2 separate regions of the Homo sapiens genome follow, and region 2 is linked to region 1. Evidence: promoter capture Hi-C in 16 types of primary human blood cells and fetal thymus (Javierre and others, 2016). All regions are on one chromosome and are shown on one strand. The core of a region is centred on a gene start or on the middle of the fragment in contact, and the rest is flanking DNA. Distances in the headings are between cores, read along the strand shown.

Region 1 (7,626 bases), core at 2,689-5,188:
TGAAGAAGAACCTCTACTTTACCTTCTTTTTTTTTTTTTTGAGACAGAGTCTCCCTCAGTCACCCAGGCTGGGGTGCAGCAGCGCGATCTCGGCTCACTGCAAGCTCCGCCTCCCGGGTTCACGCCATTCTCCTGCCTCAGCCTCCCGAGTAGCTGGGATTACAGGTGCCCGCCATCATGCCTGGCTAATTTTTTTGTATTTTTAGTAGAGATGGGGTTTCACCGTGTTAGCCAGGATGGCCTCGATCTCCTGACCTCGTGATCCGCCCATCTCGGCCTCCCAAAGTGCTGGGATTACAGGCGTGAGCCACTGCGCCCGGACTAATTTTTGTATTTTTAGTAGAGACAGGGTTTCCCCATGTTGGCCAGGCTGGTCTCAAACTCCTGCCCTAAGGTGATCTGCTCACCTGGGACTCTCAAAGTGCTGGGGTGAGAGGTGTGAGCCACCGTGCCTGGCCATTCTTGATATTGTTAATGTATGTTTTTATTCTGAAAAAGGTTTTTTGTTGTTTATTTATTTATTTTTGAGACAGAGTCTCACTCTGTTGCCCAGGCTGGAGTGCACTGGTACAATCTTGGTTCACTGCAACCTCCGCCTCCTGGCTTGAAGATTTTCCTGCCTCAGCTTCCTGAGTAGCTGGGATCACAGGCACGTGCCACCATGTTTGGCTAATTTTCGTATTTTTTGTAGAGCTGGGGTTTCACCATGTCGGCCAGGCTGGTCTCAAACTCCTGACATCAGGTGATCTGCCCACCTCGGCCTTATAAACTGCTGTGATTATAGGCATAAGCTACTGTGTCTGGCCTAATTGTCCTCTACTAATACTGTATTAGGCTGGGAAGACTAACTGCTCTAGCAATCCTCAAATCTCAATGGTGTAAGAAAATAAAAACTTTATTTTTTGCTCATGTCACAGTTCGGTGCAGGATAGTGAGAAGGATCTGCTCTCCTTTGCTACTGGAGACCCAGGCTGCTTCTGTGTAGTGCCTAGAAAAGTCTCAGCAGCTGAGAGGTGAAAAGGTGTGGAGGATTGCATGGAAGGTTTTATAAGCCAAGCCCAGGGGCTGTTGAATTTCATGTCCTCTCATATTTTATTGGCCAGAAATCAGGTATAGTACCACATCGAACTGGAAAGGAGGCCAGGATATGCTGCCCAATAGGATGCTCCGAGCAGTGCACTCAGAAGAATGAACAGGTTTGGAGACAGTCCAAGTCTGCTGTGTCCTCAACTTCCTTGGGGGTATTTTCCTTACAATCTATAACTTTTTTTTTTTTTTTTTTGAGATGGAGTCTTGGTCTGTCGCCCAGGCTGGAGTGCAATGGTGCAGTCTCAGCTCACTGAAACCTCTGCCTCCCGGGTTCAAGTGATTCTCCTGCCTCAGCCTACCGAGTAGCTGGGATTACAGGGGCCTACCACCATGCCTGGCTAATGTTTGTATTTTTAGTAGAGATGGGGCTTCACCATGTTGGCCATGCTGGTCTCGAAGTGCTGACCTCGTGATCTGTCCGCCTCGGCCTCCCAAAGTGCTGGGATTATAGGCGTGAGCCACTGCTCCCGGCCACAATCTACAACTTCAAATGGAAAAGGCAAAGATAAATATTAGTCCTCTATCAGTAAGGACACACATGTAGCTGCTGTAACAAAGGCAAAACAAAAAAACACAATGCAATAACTTAAACAAGATACAGTATTTTTCTTGCTTGCATAAAAATCTGAACAAAGCACTCCAGGGTTGACGTGGCGGCTCCACAGAATCAGGCACTAAAGGCTCCTGGTATATTGTTTTGTCTCCCCGATCACCTAACTTCCTTCTTATCATCTGAGATGACAACTTTACCTCCACTGTAGTGTCCACATTCTGGCAAACTGGAAAGAGGAGAAGGGCAAGTGGAAAGCAAGCCTTTCCCTTTAAAGGTATAACCCAAAAGTTGTCTATGTCACTTGTGCTTATGTCCCATTGGCCAAAACTTAGTAACCAAATCTTGGTAAGCACCCTTGCTGCAGTGGGAGTTGGGAAATGTAGATCTTTGTTTAGGTAAGAAAGAAGAGGGCATGGAGGGCACAGTCCTTACATTCCAGACCTTAGTCATGGCGCTACACCTCGTTGTAAGGGAGGCTAGCTATTGCAGCCTTTCGCTGGGTGGCCATGTACCCAGCTAGATCTCAGGGGCACTCTTACTAAAGTAATGCATGGAGAATGGATAGCATGAGAAGCAGTTTCTGCTACAAGTGCCTTTCATAAAAAGAACTCCTATAAGAAAAACAAACAGGGCCTAAGGAAAACTAATCCAAAGGGTAAAACATGGGGAAAAGACAAAAAACAAAAGAAAAAAGAAAAGCAAGTTTCCCAGGTAGAAAATGAATGAAGACTGAGGTACATAAGTGAGAAGTCCTGTAAAATTGATAATCCTTTTCATTTTGTCACAAAAGTCCCTACTTACATTCTAAAATTCCATTAAATGTCACCTTTCTGATATCCCCATTTTATTTCTCTCTCTTTGGGCATTTACCATGCTGTAGTGTACTCTAGGCCATTCCTAGCTTTGTAACTCTCTCAAGGTGACTCTGCAGGAGATGCAAAGTAGTTAAGAGGAGAACCCCCAATACTGATGTGTTTATAGGTGAGGTGGTCTGATGTCTTAGATTTGCTTTAAAATATTCCTGCACAAAATAAAAAGGGGAATAGATGAAACAAGATTGACAAAATGTTGATTCATTGACGCGGTGTAATGGGTATCTGGGTGATCATAGTACAATTTTATCTCTTTTGTATATATTTTAAAATTTCCATAATATAGCAAAACATGAGCCCAGTCCCTCAAGGCAGCCAGATTTGGGTTCAAACCCTAGTTTGACCTTTTACTCGCTGAGTGACTTTACCCTGCTACAGCTTCAGTTTCTCCAAATGGAAATAATATATACTCCATTAAGGTTCTTGTAAACTCTCAAGTAAGAGGGAATCTGAGGCTCTAGCACACGGCCCGGCCCTTAATAGTTGTACTAATTTTTATTTTATTTTTCGAAACGGAGTTTGCTCTGTCACCCAGGCTGGAGTGTAGTGGCATGATCCGGCTCACTGCAACCTCCACCTCCAGGGTTCAAGCAATTCTCCTGCCTCAGCCTCCTCCCGAGTAACTGGGATTACAGGAGTGCGCCACCACGCCCAGCTAATTTTTGTATTTTTTAGTAGAGACGGGGTTTCGGCATGTTGTCCAGGCTGGTCTCCAACTCCTGACCTCAGGTTATCCTCCCGCCTCGGCCTCCCAGAGTGCTGGGATTACAGGCGTGAGCCACTGCGCCTGGCCAGTAGTTGTACTAACAAGGGTTTCTGCTTGCGAGCAACAAAGACTGACTCTAGTTGTGGCTAATTTCTTTCACACACACATATTAAGTGCCAGAGGTAGGACTTGAGCTCGGATCTCTGATTTCCAGACCTAGAACTTTTTATGTGTTATTACAGTCGTTAAAAACCTTACCTGGATTTGTGCTTTGCAATTTACGCTTTCGAACATGCAGGAATGTAGTTTGGGCATTTGTCTGGAACTTCGGATTCTCGGGACTCCAGGGTGGCCAAGGCGCGGAGGTGACTCAATGACATTGACCGGCCTGGATGCACGTGGGTTGCTGAGCCGATGCTGGGAAGGTACGGGGTTTGCCCGGTGCAGGCCGCCGGAACTCACGCACGCCCCTGTCTCTCTCACTCCTGGGGTCGGCTCTGGCCGGTGGCCTCCAGCTCAGCTAGCGGCCGGACGCGCAGCCCGCCGACTAGCCCTCCAGGTCCTAGCGCGACTCCCGGATCCCGGATCCGGCGGATCTGGCCGACCACTCACCCTCCCCTTTCCGCAAGTTAGGGGGCGGGGCATCGGGTTTCTGGCTCGTGATTTGCCGGAGCTCCTGCGCTCCCCTTCTCCACCCCCTCCGGCTGTGTGAGAGGTCAGCAGAGGGGCGGTCTGCGGGGACAACAATGGCGGGGTTCTGGGTCGGGACAGCACCGCTGGTCGCTGCCGGACGGCGTGGGCGGTGGCCGCCGCAGCAGCTGATGCTGAGCGCGGCGCTGCGGACCCTGAAGGTGAGGAGCAACGGGGCCTCGCGGGTCCGGGCTTCACTGGGCTTCTAGCCGTGCCGCCTCTGGGCGGCTGGCGCCGGGAGAGCGCTGGCTGGGTCCGGCTGCCCCCGCGCCCCGGTTCCGCATCAGCTACACCGCTTGCTTTCCTCCCTCCCGGAGTTCGCGTGGCAGCGGGCTCAGGAGGCATCCCTCGTTGCAGCTGTTCCTCGCGGGGATCCTGCGGAGCAGAGAGGCCTAGGGCAGAGGCAGTTGGGTGCCCGCACGCCCTCCGAGGCGGCTGATGGCTTTGGGCAGGCATATTGCTCGAGGTCTGCTTCCAGGGCCCCGCGGCATTGGCTTTGTCTTAAGCTTTCCAGGGTGTCTTTTTAGGTGTCCTTATAGTTTCCGTGTTCTGTTGCCTCTTTCCAGCATTTTTGAAGGGACACTGTGAACTGTTGCTTAAGTAGTGTTAGGGTTGTGAGTTTGTCTTATCTTTTAAAGTATTATACCATGTCAGGACTGCCAATAGATTTTACGTTTCATTTGAAAGCCTGTTTTAATTGTATGACACCCCAGTCTACTGTGTACCAAATGCATCCCGTGAACTTACTTTCCTTTTCGGTATAGTGGTGAGCCTGATTTTGGCACTGTTCTAAACACATTTCATGACTGTTCTGTATACCTAGGCTGTCATGATGGCAGATTGACAAACAGGTTGGAGTGCTTGTGTGTGCTTCTGAGCTCTGTCTCCAGTCAATGTCGAGTCTGTCGTTAATTCTGGGGCACAGACCACCTAACCTACTTTATAAGGTTTGTTGAGGCACTTGAACACATTCTTTAAAATGAAGGTCCCCTGAAAACCATCTGTCAGCTGGTTCAGTGTGCTTGTTAAACTTCCTTTTAAAAAATAATTATTAAAACATTGCCACATAACTTGATTTATAGTCATTTAATTTTAGACGTTGAAGACACTTTAGAGACGACCTGCCCCATCCTACTCTTTAAAGAGGAGGGAACCGAGCCCCAGGTGGGCAGTATGAGAGCTGGAGCTTATCGACATGGAAGTGAGTGGCACCTATGTTTGTTTTGTGTCCAATTCAGCGTGCGGACTTTCACTGTTTTCTGTGTTCCCATACAGTTTAGTGTTCTTTAATCTTTATCATTCTGTTCATCTGTGTTGGCCACTTCAATTGCAGCTGTAAGACTTATGCATTTACATAGGAGGCAAGTTAGTATGGTGTAAAGTGTGGGCTTTGGGGTCAGGCGCATGAGGCTTTGTATATTGGACAGGTCTCTTCCTTGGGCGTCAGCTTCGTCCTTGTAGCTATTTTTTTCAACAAATATTTACTGAATATCTCCTGTCTTCCACTTCTGGGGAATGAATATGGTTTCTGCTTTCTTAGAAATTTTACTCTAGTAGGGAGACTGTAACAAGTGTAAAATGGTATTAGGGGAGATGCCCGGGTGCTATAAGAAAATAAAATAGAGGGATTTGACCAAGCCAAGATTTTGAATTCTGTGTTCTAGATACTGTTCTGTTGCTTTGCTTGAACTAATTTATTCAATCTCACAACAGTCGTATGTCCCCCATTTACAGAAGATGAAAGTGAGGCACTGAGTGTTAATGTGACTTGCTCGAAGCTATAGTGCCAATAAGTGGCAAACAGGATTTAGAACTCCAGAACCTGTGCTCTTAATCATACTATGCTATCTACGGTAAGGGAGTGTTTTCCTTTGGAACTGAAAATTGAGACAAGTTTTGAAGGATGAAGTGACCTTTTCTAACAAACAGAGATGAATGTTATAGGTGAGAGAGCAGTGTATGCAAAGGTCCTGTGGCCAGAGGGAATGACAGGTTAGAAGAACTGAAAAAAGCCTACAGAGGCTCTGATGCAGAGAGTAGATGGTGTTGGGGAAGCTGGCAGGAGTCAGACCATCTGGCTCTTATAGATCACATTATGAGGTTTGGTGTTTGTCTTAGAGCAGTGGGAAGACATTGATGTTGGAGGTGGGAGGGATGACACTGACATTTTAGATTGGAGAGGCTGAGAGGAAGGCTGTTACTGTACTTACTGTTGTACACTTGTTATACACTTACTGTGTAATACATACGCTTTGATGATTCTTACCTGGTTTTTTCCTTTTAATGTGTTGGCAGAGACTGCATCTTGTCTATTTCTGTGTTCTTAGTACAATGTTTGACACAATAGGTGCTGAATGTGTAACAATAGAGTAGCATTATGTTTGTGCCGGTAAAGAATTCCTCCTTGGGGTGGGAAGCATCTCTGAAGTTCACTATCACTCTAGGGGAACTTGAGCTGCTGCTTAGCTTCTCTCTGCGCTTCTCTTCTATGAACTTGAAATATGCTCTACTGAGTCTGTTTGAAGCTGAATCTTTTGAAGATTTTAACCCCTCCCATCCCTCCCTCCACCTCTGCAAACCTTTTGGTTGGTTGAAAAGCAGCCAGCTAACTCTAGGGTCTAGTCTAGAGAATTCTGACCATTCTTTTAGCCAGTCAACAGAGTTTATTTATTTTTAGGGTATATGTAGAGTTCACCTTTTAGTCTTATTTGTTTTGTGTATCAGCTTTTTAAGCACATTCTGTTTTAATGCCTAGTTTTTTCTTCTGCGTAAATGTTTTCAGTGGCTCTAGGATGTTGGTTTTATGGTAATTGCTATAGTTATTATTGAACTCTTATATGCCTTGCATGATTTTTCTTTGCTTTTCTTTTTTTTTGAGATGGGGTCTCGCTCTGTTGCCAGGCTGGAGTGCAGTGGCGCGATCTCAGCTCACTGTAACCTCCACCTCCTGGGTTCAAGTGATTCCCTTGCCTCAGCCTCCCAAGTGGCTGGGACTACAGGCGCACGCCACCACCACCGGCTAATTTTTTTTTGTATTTTAGTAGAGATGGGGTTTCACCATGTTGGCCACCTCGATCTTCTGACCTCTTGATCCACTGCCTTGGCCTCCCAAAGTGCTTGGAATTACAGGCATGAGCCACCGAGCCCAATGGTGTGATTTTTCATATATCTTTTATCCTTATAACAACTAGGTAAAAAATCCCAATTTTACAGTAGAGGAAACAAAGCTCAGGGCAGTTAAGTAGTTGCTTAAAAGCACAATTGGCTGAAGTAGAATTTGAACCTTAGATAATATGATTCTGAAGGCTTTCTTTTCTTTCTTCCTTTTTTTTTTTTGAGATGGGGTCTGGCTCTGTTGGCCAGGCTGGAGTGCAGTGGCATGATCTTGGCCTACTGCAGCCTCTGCCTCCTGGGCTCAAGCCATCCTCCCATCTCAGCCTCCCAAGTAGGTGGGACCACAGGCACGTACGACCACACCTGGCTATTTTTTAATTTTAATTTTTATTTTTTGTAGAGATGGGGTTTTGCTATGTTGCCCAGGCTGGTCTCAAACTCCTGAACTCAAGCAATCCACCCACCTCAGCTTGCTTTTCTAATTACAAATTGTCTCATTTGAATCATGGTCTCATTGTGTGATGCATTCATGAAATTTGAATGTTTAAGCCCTGTGTTACTTGACATCCATTATTTTCTTTTGTAATCAGTAAATATGGAAA
Region 2 (7,626 bases), core at 2,813-5,312, 140 kb after region 1:
CACAGTGAGACTCTTTCTCAAAAAAAAAAAAAAAAAAGCACAAAGTATATTTAGTAAAATAAAGTTTAACCTTTTACATTTTTATGAAATAAAGTTTGATATCTATACATTGAAATGAGCTGCTTTCTTTTGTTTTGTATTATAACTTAAACTTGTGGCTTTTCAATTTGAAAACTTATTGCCATGTAGAATTTGATTTTTTTTTTTTCCTAATGCAACACTTTACTTAAAAATTATGGAGTAGAACTATATTTTTTAGAAGAGCAGGTTTTACAAAACCTAAAATTCAAACTCTGGAAGTTGCATGATGTGGTGGAAGAAGTGCTGGACTGAGAATCCCAAAAATATTGGGCTTGGTTTTGCCCAATGCCAACAGTATTTCACTGAGTGCACCTTGTTTTAAACTGAAGCAAAACTGAAGTGTAAAAAGTAAAGTAGAGGTTCCTCTTCAAAGACTTTCCTCCCCATCTAATTAGGAATAAATAGTAACTTCTCTTAGAAGCAAAATTTATTCTAAGACCTGTGCTAACATTCTTAAATATCTGCTAGCTGTAATAAAGAAATCAATGTACTTTATGTTCTCAGCTCCCACAATTTAGCCTAAATATTTGCCCTGGCATGCTTATACTGGTCCAAGCAAGCATTAAGTCATAGCCTGTTCCTCTTCCTTATTTGAAGGTGTTTTTACCTTTCTCAGTATTCCACAAGTTACTTCCTCCTTCCTTTGTTCTCCTCTGCCGTTGCCTCTTTTAAAAAGTTCTATGTTGTTAGCCAATTGGGACAAATACAAAATGTGAGGTCCTGTTCCAGCCAATGGAAACCGGACACAGCAGTAGGGTGGGCGCCTCAGGTTATAAATGACCCTGTCTCCTTTGTTCAATGTACTCTCGTGGCAAAACTGCTGGCGAATGTACCCTTTCTGCAGAAAGTAAACATGGCCTTGCTGAGGAAATTAAATTTATGTTCCAGTGCTGTTTCTTTACGGCACTGGGGAACAAGCATTTCTAACAGAAGCCTGTCTGGTTCTGAGTCCCTGCCCTGAACCCCTGCCTTTGGATGTCAGTTAACTCACTTATAAAACCGCTGCTCTGGAGATGAATAGTTCTGTTGGCATTTGTGAGATTGTGTCTTATCCTAACAGACTAATTTTTATGGAAGCTGATGCGGATAGTTGTTTATTCATGGAAGAAATAATGTGTTGATTGCGTTAATTTGCTAAACTCTGGGGATTTAGTAGAGAGTAAGACAGCTAGTTGTTGCCCTCATGAAGGTTAAGTGTGAAAAGGGCTGCATAATTGCAGGGCGTGGTGTATGTGTTCATGTGGCAATGATACCTAGCCAGGTGTGGGAGGACTGGAAAGGCACTCTAAAGAAAGTGGCAGGCTGGGCGCGGTGGCTCATGCCTGTAATCCCAGCACTTTGGGAAGCCGAGGTGGGCGGATCACCTGAGGTCAGGAGTTAGAGATCAGCCTGGCCAAAAATGGTGAAACCCTGTCTCTACTTAGAATACAAAAATTAGCCGGGTGTGGTGGTGTTTGCCTGTAGTCCCAGCTACTCAGGAGGCTAAGGCAAGAGAACTACTTGAACCCAGGAGGCAAAGGTTGCAGTGAGCCGAGGTCGTGCCACTGCACTCCAGCCTGAGTGACAGACTCCCATCTCAAAAAAAAAAAAAAAGAAAGAACGTGGCATTAGCTGAAACTGGAAGCATGCCACCCTGGACTCTGGGAGGAAATGGTCATTTTCCTGTCACCCAGACTACTGCCTCCCAGCCTGACTCTTCAGATCCCTCTTGCCTCTCAAAGTGTTCATTTGTTTGTTCATTCATTCATTTATTCTTCCAACAACTGTTGGTTGAATAACAACTGTGCCAGGCGTGTGCTCGGGATTTGAAATACCTAACTTGAACCAGCTGGACAAGGGTTTCTGTCCTTATGGAGCTTACATTTTAATGGGCTAGGGAGGTGCAGAGGGTGGACAGTGCACATCATAAGTAAGCAGATGCTATGCCAGAATTCTCCAGCCTGCAACCAGAGCTAGCCCTTCATTTCCTTGCTCTGAGGCTACAGTTCAGTTTCTCTCATGTGGCTGTGAGGCCCAGCCTTCCCCTCGCCTCTCTCTTCAGGTCCCAGACACTGTTTTTCACTACGCTTCTATTTCTAAGGTGTCTTTTCAGTTACCACGCCTGAGAAAGTTTTCAGGAATCTATTTTTGGATTAGAGATCCCCTGTTGTCACATGCCCTCTTTAAAACTTGTACATAACATGCACCACATAATCATTCCTTAGCTGCTGTGTGGCTGTATTTAAGGTTTGTCTTTTCCACCAGCCTGTAAATTACCTGTTGGCCAAGATGATGTCTTTCTTGTTCCGTCCCGTGTCTTCAGGGCCCAGAATTGGGCCTATTGTAATAAAAGCTGGTTTGGTAAAAGGGGAGAGAGTTACTGGCTGAGGCTGGCTGAACTGAGAAGGCTGTGCAAGGCTGGGGAGCCTGCCTGGGCCTTGGGCTGCAGGGTAAGATGCAAGATGAACAGGGGTGGGGCTGAGACTCATGCTTAGGCGGACAGGATCAAGTATTGAAACCAGCCTAGGGAGTTCAAACTTGGTTTTGAGGCAATGGGATGTCATGAAAAGCTTAAGTGATTTTGGGGACTCCTAGTTTGTTTTGATAACATTTAATATTCTCAAAATCATTAATAATTTGATAACTTCAGGCATGGCTGATTTAATTTTTAAACTATGAAAATATGAAGTATGAAATTATGATTCTTATGGTAAAAAAGTTCAACGTGTACCTAAGAGCATACAATTTTAATTTCCCTTTTCCTACAACTTTTAATCCTACCTTTTACATTTATTTATTTATTTATTCTTAAATATAGACAAGGTCTTGCGATGTTGCTTAAGTCAGTACAGAACTCCTGGGCTCAAGTGGTCTTCCTGCCTGGGCCTCCTGAGTAGCTGGGATTATAGGCCTGAGTTACCATGCCCGGCTGTCTGTCCTACTTTTGAGCAGTAAATTGGTTTCTGTAGCTGTCTAATGCTTAAACTTTCCTGTGCGTTCAAATGTGTATTTCTGTCTTAATGTAGGTAAGGTCATACGCTATGTACTCCAACTTGCTACCCCCGCCCCCAGTATATACTTTATTTTGCTTATTTTTACAGTGTAAGAGTTACTCTCTTAAAGCTTAATTGTCATTTGTCATTGCCTTGTATAGAACCAAGGCATCTTGGACTGTGTACCAAATCCCATAAGATCTGGCCAGAACAGGGCCACGCCGTCCATACCTCCTTATCTTGTGCTTTGCTGCCACTTCCTTACTGTGTTTCAGCTTTAGCTGCCTGATATTCTTTCCCTATGAAATTGCTTCCTCATCTAGGATTTTTATATGTGTGGTTCCCTCTGTCTAATGTTCTTTCTCCCTGATCTTTCCATGGTAGCTAGCTGTTTATGTTTATGTGTGTGTGTGTATGCGTGTGTGTGTGTGTGTGTGTGTGTGTGTGTGTGTGTGTGTGGTTTTAGAGACGGAGTCTCACTTTATTTCCCAGGCAGGAGTGCAGTGGCGCCATCATGGCTCACTGCAGCTCTGACCTCCTGGGCTCATGCAATCCTCCTGCCTCAGCCTCCCAAGTAGCTGGGACTACAGGTCCCACCACCACACCCAGTAATTTTTGTATTTTTTTGTAGAGATAGAGATCTTGCCATGTTGCCCAGGCTAGTCTCAAACTCCTACCCTCAAGTGATCCTCCCATCTTGGCCTCCCAAAGTGCTGGGATTACAGGTGTGAGCCACTGTGCTTGGCCTGGCTAGATGTCTTTATCCTTAGGTTTAAAATTTTACTCCAGAAGGGCCCTTTCTGAGCAGCCTGTCTGAAACAAGTTCTCCCTAGTATTCTTGCCTGAGTACTCTGTTTCTATGTAACATTTATTTTAGTTATCAATTGATTTGTTTATTTTCTGTTTCTCTCATTAGTTTGTAATAAGCTCCATGAAGGCAGAAGATGTATTTCATGTAGTGTTGCTGGGCAGATAGTTATTGAATTAATGTATAAGTGGTTGAATAAGAACATATAGATCAACTGCATTCTTTTTAAAGGCTAATATTTCATTTTATGGATGTACCAGTCCTTTGTTGAAGGCTTACTAAATTGTTTTTCAGAATTTTTTTCTTATTAAAACACCACCAACGAATTCAAAATAATGAATTTCTTTGTATGTCTCTCTGTGTTCACTCATGTGGGTATATCTGTAGGATGACTTCCCAGGAGTAAAATTTCAGAACAAAAGATAACGTGTCCTCAAACTTTTGGTAGATACTGACAATTTCTTTTTAAAAAGATTATCCCATTTTCTATGACACCAGTAATATGAGAAGTATTTAACTTTGTCATCCTGGCCATTATCAGATTTTAATTTGCTAGAGGAAAAGTGAGATCTCATTGTTTTAATTTGTATTTCTGTAATTAGGAGCAAGGCTGAGCACAGATATTGTGCTTCTGGAACTGTTTTTCTGTGAGCTTTTAATTTAATCTTTTGTGATGATTGTTGGTCCTTTTTTTAGTTGATTCAGAGTTTGATTAAAGTTTTTTAAACTTATGATGTTATAGGCAACCTTTACAGTGTGATGTCACTTAGTGCCATTGAATTTGGAGCTATATAGGGCTTTTTATCTCTTCAAAAGTAATTTTGTAGAGCCTGATAATAAAACTTCATGTTCTCAAAGACCATATTGGGGCTGAGTGTATAATATTTAGTAGTTTATTATTGAAACAGTAATAGAGATTTTAATGTCCAGTGCATAATAGGTCCTCAGTAAAGTATTTTTGGATGAATGAGTGACAAGTGAAAAGTTAATTTTTAAGGCAGCTTGATTTTATTTGAAAGTTCATTTAGAAGAATCTAATTTTCATAGTAAGAAGACTTAGCATGCTGTTAAGTTGAAAGATAAGCTTGCTTTGTGGCATGCTATAGAAGTGTTGGATTTGTGGCAGTGGAATTTTTAATTTGCTGTGTCAGATATAGATATGGCTTTATGTATCCATACACACCCAGCTATAACATGTATATTCAAATAAGTGACAAAATATGTCTAATGAATTTTTGAATTACCTTTTAAAACTTGCCTGTTAGTTCTCTCAAGTGATGAACTTTTTACAATAGCAGTTTATTTTCTCTCATCACGTTGGAAAGAAATGTTAAAAGTTTTCTTCTAGGTTTATTATAATCCAGTCTTCATCAGCCATCACTCTTCCTGTATTTTGTTCAAGAGGCACTAATTGTTCGCATTTGGCAGGTTTAACACTTCCTGACAGAGAGGCTATTAAGGGGAAGTATTCTCCAATAACTGTCACTGGCTGGAACAAAGAACCTTCCAACTCAATGTGTGGAAACCACTAACATTCTTAAATGACCCTTTTCATGGATTTTCATCCCTTTAAGCTAAAGTTTGGAGAATGTAGGGTCAGCGAAAACAGCAACGTGTAATAAAGCAGTAAACCTTGATTTTGGAAGGCATAGGGTGGGAGATATAGATTTATCTCTGACTTGAAAACAATTGTTATTTGGAAAATCTCATTAGCAGATGTGACTGCTTGGAGTAAAAAAAAAAAAAAACAACTTAAAACTGATGTCGCTTTCAGGACCCCTTTGAACTTAACAAGCACCTATTTGTGGAGCAGACTGGCTAATGAAAGGAAATTAAATTTTTCTGACAACTTCCCCTGCCAACCTCCTTATTCAGGGGATGTTATTAGGTACTGAAGAACTTTAAAGAAGATTTTTTTTTATTAGACATAAGTGAACCAGTTATAAACATCCCCCCCCGCCCCCTTCTCGGAGGATTCTGACATGGTTGCTCTACATTTTAAACGTATTAGCTTAAAAGCTTAAAAAACACTGGGCTTCACTTCAGCATTTTAGTCATTTTCTAAAAATTCAGTCACACTTACCAGCTGTGGTTTCAAAACAATATTGTCAGTCTTTGTGGTAGTTTAGTTTGTGTCACTGAATTACACAAACACACACACACACACACACACCCCACACATACCCACACACACGAAGGAGGCTTAGATTTCAACATTATCTTTATTGTTATTTGGGGAAATGATTCAGCAGTGTCCTGTGTTGGATGTGTTAGGTGAGGGTTAATGATCAGTGAAATTACTTAGATTCAAGGGAAGTTTTTGTCTTTTCATCTTCTTAGAGGTAGAAGTGGCATTGGTTAATATTTAGCAATAACTAATCCTTAAATGGATAAACTTTTACCCCTTACTGTTTAGGAAGGTATTTTCTTTCTTTTGCTTTTTGGAGTTTTTTCCTCCAGTAGTTGGTTCGTTGAAATTAAAGTTTTTTTTTAATTTATGTAACAAGATACAATTGTAGAGATAAAATATGTACCTGAAAAAAAAAAAAAAGAAAGAAACAATAGAAAAGAAAAGGTAATGCAGATTACCAAAAGGATTTTTTGGAACAATTCGTAATTCCTGTAGGTACTGGAAATTAACTTTCATATTTCTGCAAAATCGATCAACTACTCCCAAACAATAGAGAATCAACTCCCCCTGCTGACAGAATCTAGGAAAACATGACACATAATATTGGACAGAAACAAGCTGGCTGCGGACAAGCTTTAATGACCTGATTTATGATTCAGTATTGATTGTAAACATCTAAATTCTGCCATTAAATTCCGGCAACTGCACCAAATCATTGGCAATTCTGGTAGTGCTTCCTGCCAGCTCATTTCAACTGCTTTGAGTTTCTTAATATAATAATGATGAGGTAGAATTTACATTCCACTTATGGTATTAATTTTACATTTCTCTGAATGAAAAGGGTTAGAAGGTAGTAAAATTGAACATTAAATGAATCGGAGGAGACAGTAGTGCAATATATGACTGCCCTAAAGACATTGTGCAATGCCTCATGGGATTAATGTTGAGTCTCATTTCCTGCTTTTACAGGATGCAGAAGAAGCTGTCAGAATTGCAAGGGAAATTGGTAAGTCCTTAAATTAACTTTGGTAGGATTTCTGTGTCTTTCAGCAGATACGGTTGAGTCAACAGGTAATAAGTAATTCCCATAGAGCAAATAATACTTTAATAGTTTTAGATTTTGATTACTTGTTGCTCTGGAAGAATGTATCAGTTGAATTGCCAAATTCTATTATTAAAGGAGACTGTAAAGAGTAATTTGACCTTAACTATACATAACTCTTTTGTAAGATGAGATCACAGGCTAATTCAAAGAAGGAATTGTCTTAAGAATTCTAAAGATTGGATATAAGTTTAATGTCAATTTATATGTACATAGTTGAATGTGGTTTGTTAAAATTAAGAACATTTGGATTAAAATGAAGATACCATATGTGACATAGTTCTTTAAGTTTTTGCCTTTTGCTAAGATGTTAGGTATCAACTTAATCTTGTTAGATGGGAAAGATAAAATAGATGTGGGAAATTAGAACTGAATGATCTAAATTGGAATAAAAGGTAGACTGGAGGAGTTTTTAATGGCTGTTTTACATGTACTTGTATTTGGGCAGTGTTTCCCAACTTTTTAATTTCTTTTCTTTTTCTTTTCTTTCCTTTTTTTTTTTTAAGATGGAGTTTTGCTGTCATTGCCCAGG

Evidence for each region. Contacts are between HindIII fragments. The CHiCAGO score rates a contact against its expected background, and 5 or more counts as called.
Region 2: a fragment that was not itself captured here is called in contact with the fragment with the promoter of PCCA in region 1 in 1 of 17 cell types (M0 macrophages); the score reaches 6.9 in M0 macrophages.

What each region holds. Positions count from the first base shown.
Region 1 is chr13:100,085,155-100,092,780 of GRCh38, forward strand. PCCA (propionyl-CoA carboxylase subunit alpha) reads left to right here and starts at 3,939. Exons shown (of 24, transcript NM_000282.4): 1 at 3,939-4,071. The coding sequence starts at 3,967. PCCA-DT (PCCA divergent transcript) reads right to left here and starts at 3,789. Exons shown (of 2, transcript NR_132422.1): 1 at 3,479-3,789; 2 at 877-1,573. RefSeq lists enhancers at 3,469-3,518, 3,549-3,808 and a silencer at 4,089-4,268. The HindIII fragment of the contact is 8,226 bases long and covers 1-4,414 here.
Region 2 is chr13:100,228,881-100,236,506 of GRCh38, forward strand. PCCA (propionyl-CoA carboxylase subunit alpha) reads left to right here. Exons shown (of 24, transcript NM_000282.4): 8 at 6,962-6,998. Among named protein-coding and RNA genes, the nearest start is that of PCCA, 140 kb to the left of the region's middle. The HindIII fragment of the contact is 1,762 bases long and covers 3,182-4,943 here.